Linked DNA regions of Homo sapiens: region 2 is linked to region 1. The links are contacts of gene promoters, found by promoter capture Hi-C in human tissues and cell types (Jung and others, 2019). All regions are on one chromosome and are shown on one strand. The core of a region is centred on a gene start or on the middle of the fragment in contact, and the rest is flanking DNA. Distances in the headings are between cores, read along the strand shown. Region 1 holds the start of ADAMTS2 (ADAM metallopeptidase with thrombospondin type 1 motif 2). Region 2 overlaps ZNF354A (zinc finger protein 354A).

The links. The method cuts DNA at HindIII sites, captures the fragments that hold promoters and counts their contacts. A contact is called where the count stands out against the background at its distance.
Region 2: a contact is called between a fragment that was not itself captured here and the fragment with the promoter of ADAMTS2 in region 1, in 1 of the 25 tissues and cell types used here (lymphoblastoid cells).

Annotation. Positions count from the first base shown.
Region 1 is chr5:179,342,079-179,348,362 of GRCh38, reverse strand. ADAMTS2 (ADAM metallopeptidase with thrombospondin type 1 motif 2) reads left to right here and starts at 2,902. Exons shown (of 22, transcript NM_014244.5): 1 at 2,902-3,173; 2 at 4,202-4,596. The coding sequence starts at 3,035. It overlaps LOC105377759 (a long non-coding RNA gene), which reads left to right. Exons shown (of 3, transcript XR_941311.3): 2 at 1,265-1,417; 3 at 1,584-2,002. The HindIII fragment of the contact is 12,907 bases long and covers 1-6,284 here.
Region 2 is chr5:178,708,541-178,714,824 of GRCh38, reverse strand. ZNF354A (zinc finger protein 354A) reads left to right here. Exons shown (of 5, transcript NM_005649.3): 5 at 1,204-3,313. The coding sequence ends at 2,765. Among named protein-coding and RNA genes, the nearest start is that of MSANTD5, 14 kb to the right of the region's middle. The HindIII fragment of the contact is 7,128 bases long and covers 420-6,284 here.

The sequences.
Region 1 (6,284 bases), core at 1,653-4,152:
TCCAGGTTTTCAGGGATCATGGTGCTGACAATCACGAGCAATAGGCAGGTGTAGGGCAACAGGGGGTGGTGAGGACTGCGGTAAGCTGGAGAGCACAGCCAGACCTGAAGACATTCAGGCTCCAGTAGAAACGAACGCACGTGGCATGTGCTCAACAACACATCCGGCGGCGTTGGCCCAGTGGCCCTTAGTTTTTGTCGTTGGGACCTAGACTGAACATGCAGAGGAGCAGAGAGCCACTGGGGACTTCTATGTCCCGTATTTTACCTGGAAGAGGAAAAGGGGGACCAGAGAAAGAGGCAAACACCAGTAAGGGGGGAGAGGCAAGATTTGAATCATGGAGGTTTGAAGAAGTAGCAAGATTTTTGTTGTTGTTCTTTGGTTGTTTTTTGTTTTTCTGTTTGTTTCTGAGTGGAGGACAAATGATCACGGGCTGGGATGTGTCTGCAAGTCTCCTCCACCTCCCTGAGGGTTTAACTGTGAAGTTAGGTGCATGTGAGCCTTGTTCATCCACCACCCTGGTGGGTGACAGTGGGGGCACTAAAGGAAGGGCCAGGCAAGGGTGCTGCTCCATCCCCAACTCATCCCTGGTGGCAGGGGCACGGGTGATGTGGGAAGAATCAGCTGCCTGGGGTTATTCAGTGTCCAGGAGACAAATTCTTTCCCCCAAAAATATCCCAAAGCAAGTATCCCAAAGTATACAAAATAATTTAGCTCTGTGAACCTGTTAGAAGATGCCATCAACTCATAAAGTCAGAGTTACTCCTTTTCAGGCCTCCTTTCATCCTTCCAATCACATCAGAACAACGACCTCTGTGCTAGTCCATCTTAAGGCTTTTGTAACACTTACTAATCAGCTTCAGCCTTCGGTATCTTTAGCAGGTCAAAGTATCTGGAATTTGATAACATTTCTCTTCTTGTTGTATTTATTTTTAGCAATTATCTTTGATTTATGGAAACATGGTGAGATGCTGGCTTTTCCATTTATAGTAGTGATTTAAAGTATCCTTTAAAAAATTGAAAAAAGTTTTAGGCGCTGTGTAAAGAAATACCCAACCATAGACACGGCAGGAAGGTGCAGAACATGCCCCTTGAAGTAGGGGCGGCTGCTGGTTGGGTTTCACTCGTGTTTCGAAGAGGATGGAAGCGCTGACAACCACAGGAGGAATGCGTCATGGGTTCCAGGACAGCAACTGGCTGGACCCAACTCTGGGCTGCCTAGCTCCCCCAGCCTTCACAATTCAACTCATGCCACCTCTTACAGGAAGTCCTCCTGGATGCCCAGCTCTGGAGTCATCTCTGTGGTATACTAGGATTCCAGTTCCAACTTTCTCTGGAACCAGTTGGGTCATCACAGGTCACGAGAGCAGATGCCTACAGAGAGTGAGGAGAGGCGGGACCTGCCACAAACTGCAAGGTAAGTGCCCATTTAATGGTTGCTAAGCAGGACTGTGGGGCTAGCGTGGCCACATCTTCCAATATCTCAAGAAAAGTTACCAATCTAAATTTCCATGTGACATCTCACCATGCCTGGGAGCTGGATCCAGCCTCGGGCACCCTTAGGTGACACAGAAAGAGTACAGCTTGCAGGTGAAGATGGCTGTCCAGCTGCGATGCTCTCACACCCAGGACCCACAATCGAAAGAACCAAGGACGTGAGATCACAGTTAGAGCCTGCTGTGTAAGTCGTGTTTCCCCCAACGACTGGGACCTCCTGGCCAGCAGGGAGAGGCCTGAGTCATCTCCGGGTCCTCTGCCCCTGGCCAAAGCAAAGACCAAAGCCCTGGCCACACAGACCTGGGGCAGGGCAAATGAGAAAATCAAAGGGGTGGGTGTTCACCCTCTGGGGAAGTGAGGCAGAAATTGGGGGTCCCAGGGCAGAGATGATCAACAGCCTGAGAGGGGGCTCTCAGGCAGGCCCTGGAGAGAGGCCGCTGAGCTCAGACAGCATGGGAGGATCAGGGCCTTGCTGGAGAGGAGGGACTGGGGAGGGGTTCCGGTTGGCAACGGGCTCTAACAGCAAACTGGCCCCAGAATGGGCCCAGGTGTCCTTGGATGCTTGGGTGGAAAAGGTAGGCAGAGCTTGGAGAGGCCATTTCAGGTTGGGGGCCGGGAGTGCAATGGCGGGAGGACAGAATGCATACGTGGGGTTGAGGACAGGTGAGGGCAGGAGCCTGACTGTGCTCATGGGCAGAGAGCCCAGGTCTGGCAGGAAGAGGCTGTGCTGAGGCTGCAGCGGAGGGATGGGAAGGCAGATGGGGGACAGGGGACAGGGACTTCAGAGGAAGAGGAACTGGGGACTGAAGGAGCCTTGCCTCTCTCAGTAAGGGCAAAAGTTGATCTTTGGGGTCGCGCCCTGGGTGTACCCTCCTAACAGCATCTTCTGGCCTTTGCGGCCTCTATTTGGGCATTCGGCCTGGCTCAGACCTTGGACCCAGTAGTCAGTCCCCCCTCCCCTTTCATTCCCTCACCCTGTCCTGCCCCAGAGCACAGAGACAGGGGGATGCACCCCTTGAATTCCAGGGCTGATGGGTGGGACCCGGCACCCCAAGGGCTCTCTAGGTGGGGACGTTCGGCCGGCGCCGCTCCTCGGAGGTTGTGCCCCTGGGGTGGCTGGCGGCGGGGCTCCCCCGGCCCGGCCCGCGGCGCTTCTCTGCCGCCGCCTCGGGGTGTCTCTGCTTCGCTGCGAGCCCGGCACCGCGGCGACGGCGGCGCGAAGAGGGAAGCGGGCGGCGGCGGCGGCCGCGCCAAGATGCGCCGGGTCACCGCAGGCTGAGGCGCCCGCCGTCCCCGCCCTCCCCCTCGCTCGCCTCCCTCCCTCCCGCCTGCCTCCCTCGCTCGCTCGCTCCTTCCCTCTCCCCGCCTTCCCTCCGCGCTCCCCCGCCCGCCCCTCCGCGCCTCGCCTCCTCCGCCCCGCGCCCTGCGGTGCTGCAGCTGCGGGCGGCTCCAGCTGCCCCCAGATGTGGGCTGGGCGGCTCGCGGGGAACTTTCGCGCCGGCTGCGAGTGCGGGGCCCCGGCTGCAGTCCGGCTGCCATGGATCCGCCGGCGGGAGCCGCTCGCCGCCTGCTCTGCCCCGCGCTGCTGCTGCTGCTGCTGCTGCTGCCGCCGCCGCTCCTGCCGCCGCCGCCGCCGCCCGCGAACGCCAGGCTCGCCGCCGCCGCCGACCCCCCAGGTAGGTGCGGCCCGGCCCCTACTCCCCGGGACCCCCGCCGGCCTGGCCCTGTCCCGCGTGCCCCGCCGCCCCCTCCCCAGGCGTCGTCCAGCCTGACTTGGGCAAACTCCGCGCGCCCCGCCCGGGGCCAAGTTGGCCAACTTCGGGGCCGGGTTGGTCGCGCAGGGGGCGCCCCGCACCGCCCCCGAGCGCCTTGGGCCGGGGGAGCCTCGGAGCACTGGCGGCTCCTGAGTCGCGGAGGGTGGGGACGGAGGGCCGGGAAAAGCCCCGCGGCCAAGAGCGCAGAGTCAGCCCCAGCGGGTCCGAGGGGGGAGCCAGGGCGAGGCGGCGCCGGGGCTCGCGTCCGGGGACGCTCCGGAGGAGCCGGCTGCCGAGCGCGTAGCCTTGGGCCCTAAGGATTGGTTGGGGCGCCCCGCAGGGAATCCCCGGAGATCGGAGGGACCCTGTTCCACCCCTCCCAGTCCTCGGGCGCTCGGGGAGACGGGGCCGGCAGCGGGCTGAGCGGGAGCTGGACAGGCAGGACAGGCCGCTCGTGCTCGGGGAAGCCGAGACTCCGCCGCTCCGGAGGCTGGCGGTGAGGGCACTCGGGCGGCAGGGGCCCGCCGAGGGGTCGTGGCACACGGGTAAGGGGGCCAACCCGGAATGGCTTCCGAGCAGCTCCACGTCCTGCCAAGGACGGTAGGTGCAAGGGTCGGGGGACTCTCTGACGGGGTCGTCCCTTCGGGCACGGGGAGGTTCCCACCGAGCCCCAACCCTGAACGGGGCAGGGGGCAGAGCTCTTGGCAGGCAAGGTCTCCGGAGGAGGGAACGGCTGGGGAGTGGCGGAGCCCCGGAGTGGTGGCCCTGTTAACGCCCCTTCCCGGTTGCAGGAAAGCCGGGGAGGTGCAGGCTGGCTTCTGGGGTCGCCTGGCGGAATGCCCCTTCCCTTCGCAGTGGGGCGGGGTCTGGGGGGGCGTGGCTTGCCGGCGGGTCTCTGAGGCACTGGGGCTCCGTGGTCTCCGCCGATCTAACGCCCCTTCCCGTTGCAGGCGGGCCCCTGGGGCACGGAGCGGAGCGCATCCTGGCGGTGCCCGTGCGCACTGACGCCCAGGGCCGCTTGGTGTCCCACGTGGTGTCGGCAGCTACGTCCAGAGCAGGGGTACGAGCCCGCAGGGCCGCCCCGGTCCGGACCCCGAGCTTCCCCGGAGGCAACGAGGAGGAGCCTGGCAGTCACCTCTTCTACAATGTCACGGTCTTTGGCCGAGACCTGCACCTGCGGCTGCGGCCCAACGCCCGCCTCGTGGCGCCCGGGGCCACTATGGAGTGGCAGGGCGAGAAGGGCACCACCCGCGTGGAGCCCCTGCTCGGGAGCTGTCTCTACGTCGGAGACGTGGCCGGCCTAGCCGAAGCCTCCTCTGTGGCGCTCAGCAACTGCGATGGGCTGGTGAGTACGCACTTCTCTAGCTCCTTTCTCTCCGCTGCTCTCGCCTGGGTTTTGGAAAAGGGTTACCTGGGAGTCCCTTGGGAGGGCAAGGCCTGCGCTGAGGACTTTCCGCGCCCTTCCCGTGCTTTAGTGAGCCTCGTGCTCCAACTGAAGGGCTTGGCTGGAAAGCAGGTTGTTTTGACTGGTCTGAGCAGGGGGCCATTTATGCATGGGGAGCGCCCGGGTCTCCAAAAGGCTCAGCAGGCAGGAGCGTGCGCCTCTCTCTTTTGCCTGCCTGAACAGGTCTCTGGCTTGCATCCGGGGGTGGGTCCGTGTATGTGTGTGTACCTTTGTGAGTGTGTGCACATGTGTTGTGGAACGTTGGTGTGTACCTGCATCTGGGTGCCCGTGCACCTGTGTGAACATGTGCGTGTGCCAGTGTCTCTTGTGCACGTATGTGTCTGGGTTTCTGCACATCAGTGTGTTGAGCATCTGTTGAGTTTGTGTCCGTCCTTGTGCATACTGGCGTGATATGTGTGTGGTGGACTTATGGGCTGGCAGTCAGTCTTCCTGTTTCCTTGCGTGCGGGTAATACCAGCCCAGGGAGCTGGCAGTGATGCTGAAATGCCCAGTTAGCCCTCTGCCCCTTGGCTGACCGGGAATCATTGGTTTTTCTGCTGTGGTTTCCTGTTGAACTCCAGCTGGTTCTTTGAAAAGTTGGTTTTCTCTATTTTGAGCTGAGGGGTGCATTTGGAAATGAAGGCTCTAGTGCCCATGAGCTGCTCGATCTTTTGGGGGCAGCGCCTGAAGGACAAGAGAGAGGCTAGGGGATCCCTTTTGAGACTGCCTGCGCCTCTCTAGTCCTGTGACTGGAGCTCTGGGAAGCTCTGCTTCCTGGAGAGGGCAGGAGGGACCGTGGCTCAGCACAAGGGGGCCTCAGAGGAAGCCTGGATCGATGCTGAGGGAGGAGGCTGACATTGGCGGTGCTCTGTCCGGCTGCCCGGGGCCTGGCACACAGCAGAGGCCACTGCAGTTTTCTATTTTGGATTGGGTGTGTGGTGGTCAGGCTGGCTGTGCTGGCCAGACATCTGAAGCCGCCCACCATGGGTTCCGCTCTAATTGCTACTCAGGGAACTCCTGCCCCGAGTGAGTGGCCACTCTCCCAGCCCCCGTGGCCCCTGAGCACGCCCGTACTCGGGCAGCTGAGGCTCATCCTACAGTCTGCAGAGCCGGCAATTACACCAGGGCTCTGCAACCACTGTCATTCTTTTTATGGAGACACAGAAAATATCACTTGTTGCTTTGGAAAATCACTGCCTTTGGCTGGATTTAGTTAGAACTTGGCCATATTGCAAACAACTGTAAATATCCCTGGAGGAGCTGGGTTAAAATGGTGAGCCCTTGACATCGCCCACTGTCTCTGAGGACATCCTGGGCCTCAGAGGTGTGTCCCATTTTACGCTGGAGGTTAATTTCCTAAATGAAAGGAGATGTTTGCTGCGGACTTAGGGTGAGGTAAGGTGGTGGGAGTTGACATGGGGTTGCAGTCTGTTGGTGGGCCAACACCTGTGTACTATGCATTCCTGATGGAGAGCATTTTGGGGAGGACTTGTCACTGTTTCATTCATTCAGCAGTTCATTTGGTGATTCATTTTTCAGCCAGCACCTTCTCATATGTTTATCCCCTGTACTGGTCAGCAATGAGGCAG
Region 2 (6,284 bases), core at 2,734-5,233, 630 kb after region 1:
CAAGGGTCTGAAATGTGTATGTGTATGTATGTATAACACATGTGCATATTTGTATATATATGAAGTATGTATGTGTATGTATGTATAACACATGTGCATATTTGTATATATATGAAATACGTAAGAATATTTGACATTGTTCCAGTTAGGAATGTATAAGTAATTAAGGCAGATTAACAAAACATACAACTTTTGTATATAATTGGAGTGCTGTCAAGAGGATCTGTAGGAAAATAGGGCATTCTGATCTGCTTGTGAAGAACAGTTACTTCAGAAAAGGAAAGTGAGATACATACAGACATAGATATAGAACTATAATATACTATATATGTGTGCATATATTATAAAGGTCAGTAATACATATGTTTAATACTCTGGTAAGTGCTATAGTAAGGAGAAGGGACCGTGGCTGCTCAGAGTCAAAGGATTGAGAGAGTCCATTTTTGAACTGAATCTGAAGGATATAAGGGAATTTGACATGGGGTGGAGGGACTTTCCAGATTAAGAATAATTATATAAAGGCTGAGCACAGTGGCTCATGCCTGTAATCCAAGCACTTTGGGAGGCCGAGGTGGGTAGATCACTTGAGGTCAGGAGTTCAAGGCCAGCCTGGCCAACACGGTGAAACCCTGTCTCTACTAAAAATACAAAAATTAGCCAGGCATGATGGTGGGTGCCTGTAATCCCAGCTACTCAGGAGGCTGAGGCACAAGAATTGCTTGAAGCCAGGAGACCGGTTGCAGTGAGCCGAGATCGCGCCACTGCACTCGAGCCTGGGCGACAGAGTGAGACTGTCTCAAAAAAAATTACACAAAGAAGATAAATGTCAAAAAAAAAAAACAAAAAAAAATTAGGATTCCATCATGGGTTTTGGGTCCTAACCCCAAACTTCCTCTTTCAACTCATGATCCCTTTATAACCCTTTTCTCTGTTCTTCATTAGCCAATTCTTCTGGTCACTCTTTCTCACCCTCTTTAAATGGGTTTGCTTTATTTTATTCTTCACCCTAGTACTTAAATTGCTGTCAATTATATTTTATTATACTGTCTAACTGTCCTATTTTTTCTTTTTGCAATTTTTTTCATACAGATATCAGGGTCTTATTTAAATGTCACCAATATTTATTCCTTCTACACTTTTAGTCTCAGTAGTCAGATGCTATGATATCACATGAAACATTTTTGATTTTTTTTTTCCCTCCAGGATCGAAGAGCAGTCATAAAACCACAAAGTCAACGCAAACACAAGACTCTTCATTTCAGGGACTGATACTGAAAAGATCCAACAGGAATGTACCTTGGGATTTGAAATTAGAAAAGCCTTACATATATGAAGGCAGATTAGAGAAAAAGCAGGATAAAAAGGGAAGTTTTCAGATAGTTTCAGCCACCCACAAAAAAATCCCCACTATAGAAAGAAGCCATAAAAATACTGAATTGAGCCAAAACTTCAGCCCAAAGTCAGTGCTTATTAGGCAACAGATACTTCCCAGAGAAAAAACACCACCAAAATGTGAAATACAAGGAAACAGCCTCAAACAGAATTCACAATTACTTAATCAACCAAAAATTACAGCAGATAAACGCTATAAATGTAGTCTGTGTGAAAAAACCTTCATTAACACTTCATCCCTTCGTAAACATGAGAAAAACCATAGTGGAGAGAAACTATTTAAGTGTAAAGAATGTTCAAAAGCCTTTAGCCAAAGTTCAGCTCTTATTCAACATCAAATAACGCATACTGGAGAGAAACCCTACATATGTAAAGAATGTGGGAAAGCCTTTACTCTCAGTACATCCCTTTATAAACATCTAAGAACCCATACTGTGGAGAAATCCTACAGATGTAAAGAATGTGGTAAATCCTTCAGCCGAAGGTCAGGCCTTTTTATACATCAAAAAATTCATGCTGAAGAAAACCCTTGTAAGTATAATCCGGGTAGGAAGGCATCTAGTTGCAGCACATCCCTTTCTGGATGTCAAAGAATTCATTCTAGAAAGAAGTCCTACTTATGTAATGAATGTGGCAACACCTTTAAGTCTAGCTCATCCCTTCGTTATCATCAGAGAATTCACACTGGAGAGAAGCCTTTTAAATGTAGTGAATGTGGGAGAGCCTTCAGCCAGAGTGCCTCTCTTATTCAACATGAAAGAATTCACACCGGAGAAAAGCCCTATAGATGCAATGAATGTGGGAAAGGCTTTACTTCTATTTCACGACTTAATAGACACCGAATCATTCATACTGGAGAGAAGTTTTATAATTGTAATGAATGTGGTAAAGCCTTAAGCTCCCACTCAACACTTATTATTCACGAGCGAATTCATACTGGAGAAAAACCATGTAAATGTAAAGTATGTGGAAAAGCCTTCAGACAGAGTTCAGCTCTCATTCAACATCAGAGAATGCATACTGGAGAAAGACCCTATAAATGTAACGAGTGTGGGAAAACATTCAGGTGTAACTCATCACTTAGTAATCACCAGAGAATTCATACTGGAGAGAAACCATATCGATGTGAGGAATGTGGGATATCTTTTGGCCAAAGTTCAGCTCTTATTCAGCATCGAAGGATTCATACAGGAGAAAAACCCTTTAAATGTAATACATGTGGAAAAACTTTTAGACAAAGCTCATCACGTATTGCACATCAGAGAATTCATACTGGAGAGAAACCCTATGAATGTAATACATGTGGGAAACTTTTCAACCATAGGTCATCCCTTACTAATCATTATAAAATTCATATCGAAGAGGACCCCTAGAAAGTAGATTTGTATGTGTGAAAGCCTTAAACCAAAGCTCATCGAAGAATACATCCTTGAGAGAGATGTAATAAATGTAATGGATGTGAAAAAAACTGTAATAATTTAGCCCTCATTAGGTATTTAATTCCATGGATAAACCTCAGCTATATAATAGATATGAGGAAAGTGTTTGTGCCTGTCAGACACTTAAAAAAATAACCTGAGATGAAGAATTTACAATTGAAGACATTGACTTTAGCCATTTGTGAAATGGGTTTGCTTTTTCCCTTTTCCTACAGACGTATATGCTAGATGTCACGTGATCATCAGAAACAGATATCCGAGTGGGTGGGGAGGTGTGCTTTAGATTTCTCATTAGAAGACCACCAAACTGGTAATATTTTTATAGCATTTTAATAGCTTGATCAAATTGTACCTTTTTAGAGAAAAGGACCAAAATAAAAGAAAAATGAATTATGAACTACCTCTCAGTCTCTGGGGTTTGTCCTTTTCCTACCCTGATGTCAAACTTATGCATGGATTTCATTAAAAAAGAAAAAGAAAAATCTGGTCTTTTGTTCTAGTAGTTGTGAATTTTCTACTCAACTGTCTTAACTTGGTTTTGGATTTTATTTCTCTGAAGTCATTTATTAGGTGTACCAGTTATATGCCCTGAACTGTATTAGATAGAAAAACAGGCAATAATTTCAGGTTTAAAGCTACTAAATATGTATGTATGTATTTATTATTATTATTTTTATTTTGAGATGGAGTCTCTGTCACCCAGGCTGGAGTGCAATGGTGCGATCTCGGCTCACTGCAACCTCCGCCTCCCAGGTTCAAGCAATTCTCCTGCCTCAGCCTCTCGAGTAGCTGGGATTACAGGCACCTGCCACCACACCCGGCTATTTTGTATTTTTAGTAGAGACAGGGTTTCTCCATGTTGGCCAGGCTGGTCTTGAACTCCTGACCTCAGGTGATCTGCCTGCCACGGCCTCCCAAAGTGCTGGGATTACAGGTGTGAGCCACCGTGCCCGGCCACCCTAAATATGTATTTTTTAAATTTATAACGAACACATCAGAAGAACTTTCGCAAATCTAACACCTGTGGCAAACTCTTGAAAAGGACATTGCTATGGTCTCAATGTTTATGTCTCCCCCAAATCCCTGTGTTCAAATGCTAACCTCCAAGGTGATGGTATCATGAAGTGGGATGTGTGAAGAGGTGATCAGATCAGAAGGGCGGAGCCCTCAGTGCCCTTATCAGAGAGCCCCAAGGGAGCTTGTTCTGCCCTTCAGCCATGTGAAGGCACAGTGGTAAGATACCTTCTTTGAATCAAGATGGCCATAACCAGACACCAAACCTGCTAGCACTTTAAATGGGTTTCCCAGCCTCCAGAACTGTGAGAAATATTTTATTAGTTACCTAGTATGATGAGGTTATTTTGTTACAGCAGCCCAAACAAGACATGTGAATTGTTTCATAAACTTAGTGTAGTGTGACAGATCCCCTACCAGGTTACCTAAGGGTTTATATCCACTACTTGAGCCCTGAAGTCTGGACAGTAAGCAGAGGCCATGGTGCCCAGCTGAGGAGCAAGTGTCCCTGAGAACCCAAACATCCCAGAGTATCTGGGAACACACTAAGCAAACAGTCCAATCACACACGAGGCAAAGAGCCAGAAAACTGGCTTAAAAGCAGCTTAGAGGTGCGAGGTGGTGCAGATCTCCAGAGCTGTCCTGCTGCAGTCCAGGAGAGCCCTGTATGGAAGTCATAATAAACTCATCTGCTCATCAAGCTGGACTTGTCTGAGTCATTCTTTGGTCTCTCGGCTCCTTCCCAGTTTGAGGGGGGACATTACAGTCCTAAGTTTTTCTCAACAGTAAATATTTTTTAACTTTGGAGCAGGTACTATACAAGTTTACAAGTTTTAAAACTGTACAAGTTTTAAGACAGACACAGGCTTTTCTTCAAGAAGCCATGAATTGGGAAGGGGATGGAGTTGGGCTAGCAAATGAGCAAGCAGATTATATTGCAGTTTTTGTTGTTTCAGTAGGCAAATAAGTTATGACAATATGTTCCACTATGAAAATATTGTAAAGATTTGCACAGGATGAAGAAAGAGACTCATGAAGAAAGCCTGGAGACATCAAAGCTTTCCAGGGGCAATGATGCCTGGGCTATATTTGGGGAGAATAGTAGGAACTCCGAGGGAGACAGAAGCATTCCGATTAAGAGGAAACAGCATGCGCCAAACCACAGGTGGATAATAGGACATTTGGAAAACTTAATTTAGAACTAGTGAGCAGGAAAATGACAAATGTTAAAGCTCGAGTAGAAGGCAGAAGCCAAATCACAAAAGGCCTTATTTGCCAAGCTAAGGAGTTTGGATTTTATGGTAAAATCGGTGGAGTCAAAGATGGTAAGCAAGGGAAATTCCATAGAAGATAAGCGTATGGGGTTGAAGAAAGCTGATGACTGATGCCACCCAGGAAATCTGGGCTGTTTAAATTCAAGTAATAGGTAAATGAGGGTTCCAACTCAAACAGGGACAGCATTGATGGAGAACAGGAGACAGATAATCATGTATTAGAATAAATAAGGCATGGTTTTCATAGGCAAATAGGTGAGAGTGGCAAGTGAGGAGAAAGCTGACTCACAGGTAGGGTTGCCAAACGTCCTGTATTTAATGATTTTGTCCTGAATCCTGTATTAACTTTGTTAGGATGCCTTAAATGTATTCAGGGTTTCTCCCCTCATTAATGAAAAATCAGCACTTTGAGCTACGGTTCTGCTTCAGTAATTGGCGCTTAAATCGCTTAAGTGGCAATACAAGTTGGAAATCATACCTCCACAAATAAAGATCTGAACCATCTCTTATGTTTTATCCTATGTGTTTGACTGAGGGAAGGCAAAAGGGGGAAGTGAGAATAAAAGTACTTGTTTTCCGTATTAAAGAAAGGAAAAGACTGTTCTTTTGGCCAAATTCCTAAGTTGTAAAATAATCCCCAATAATTAGATCTTTGGATCAGTACACGTGGTCTGAAAAATCAATGATGGCCTCGCTGCCAGCAGCCATGCTTCTGAAATCAACTTCCTGACAGCCTCCAGCTTCTGAATGCCACTTGAGTGCTGCTTCTAGACCACGGTTGGTCAGCAAGTCCCTCCTTCCAGTGACCGTGCTTCTGGAAGTTAGCCAGTCGACAACCGTCTAATTCCAGTGACCACACTAACACGCTTGAAAATCTAACAGTCCATAAACATCCCTGCCTCTGAAAATTCGCCAGTCCCAGACACTGAGCTGCTTAAAATTTTGGATAAGATCAGCTCTGGCTTTCTTCAGGGATCCTGTTACTGCAAACACAGTTCTCCCTTGCAGGCATGCATCAAGTTCGACTTTTCTGTGTCACATATCAAGTTCAAGTTTATTGTTAGTTTGTAAGCTTCCAACCTTTCAATAGCTCAGCCTCAATTTATTGGTAATTATGCTTCACTCTTGTGAGTGAGATGATCGAAATTAGTATTTTCAATTATTG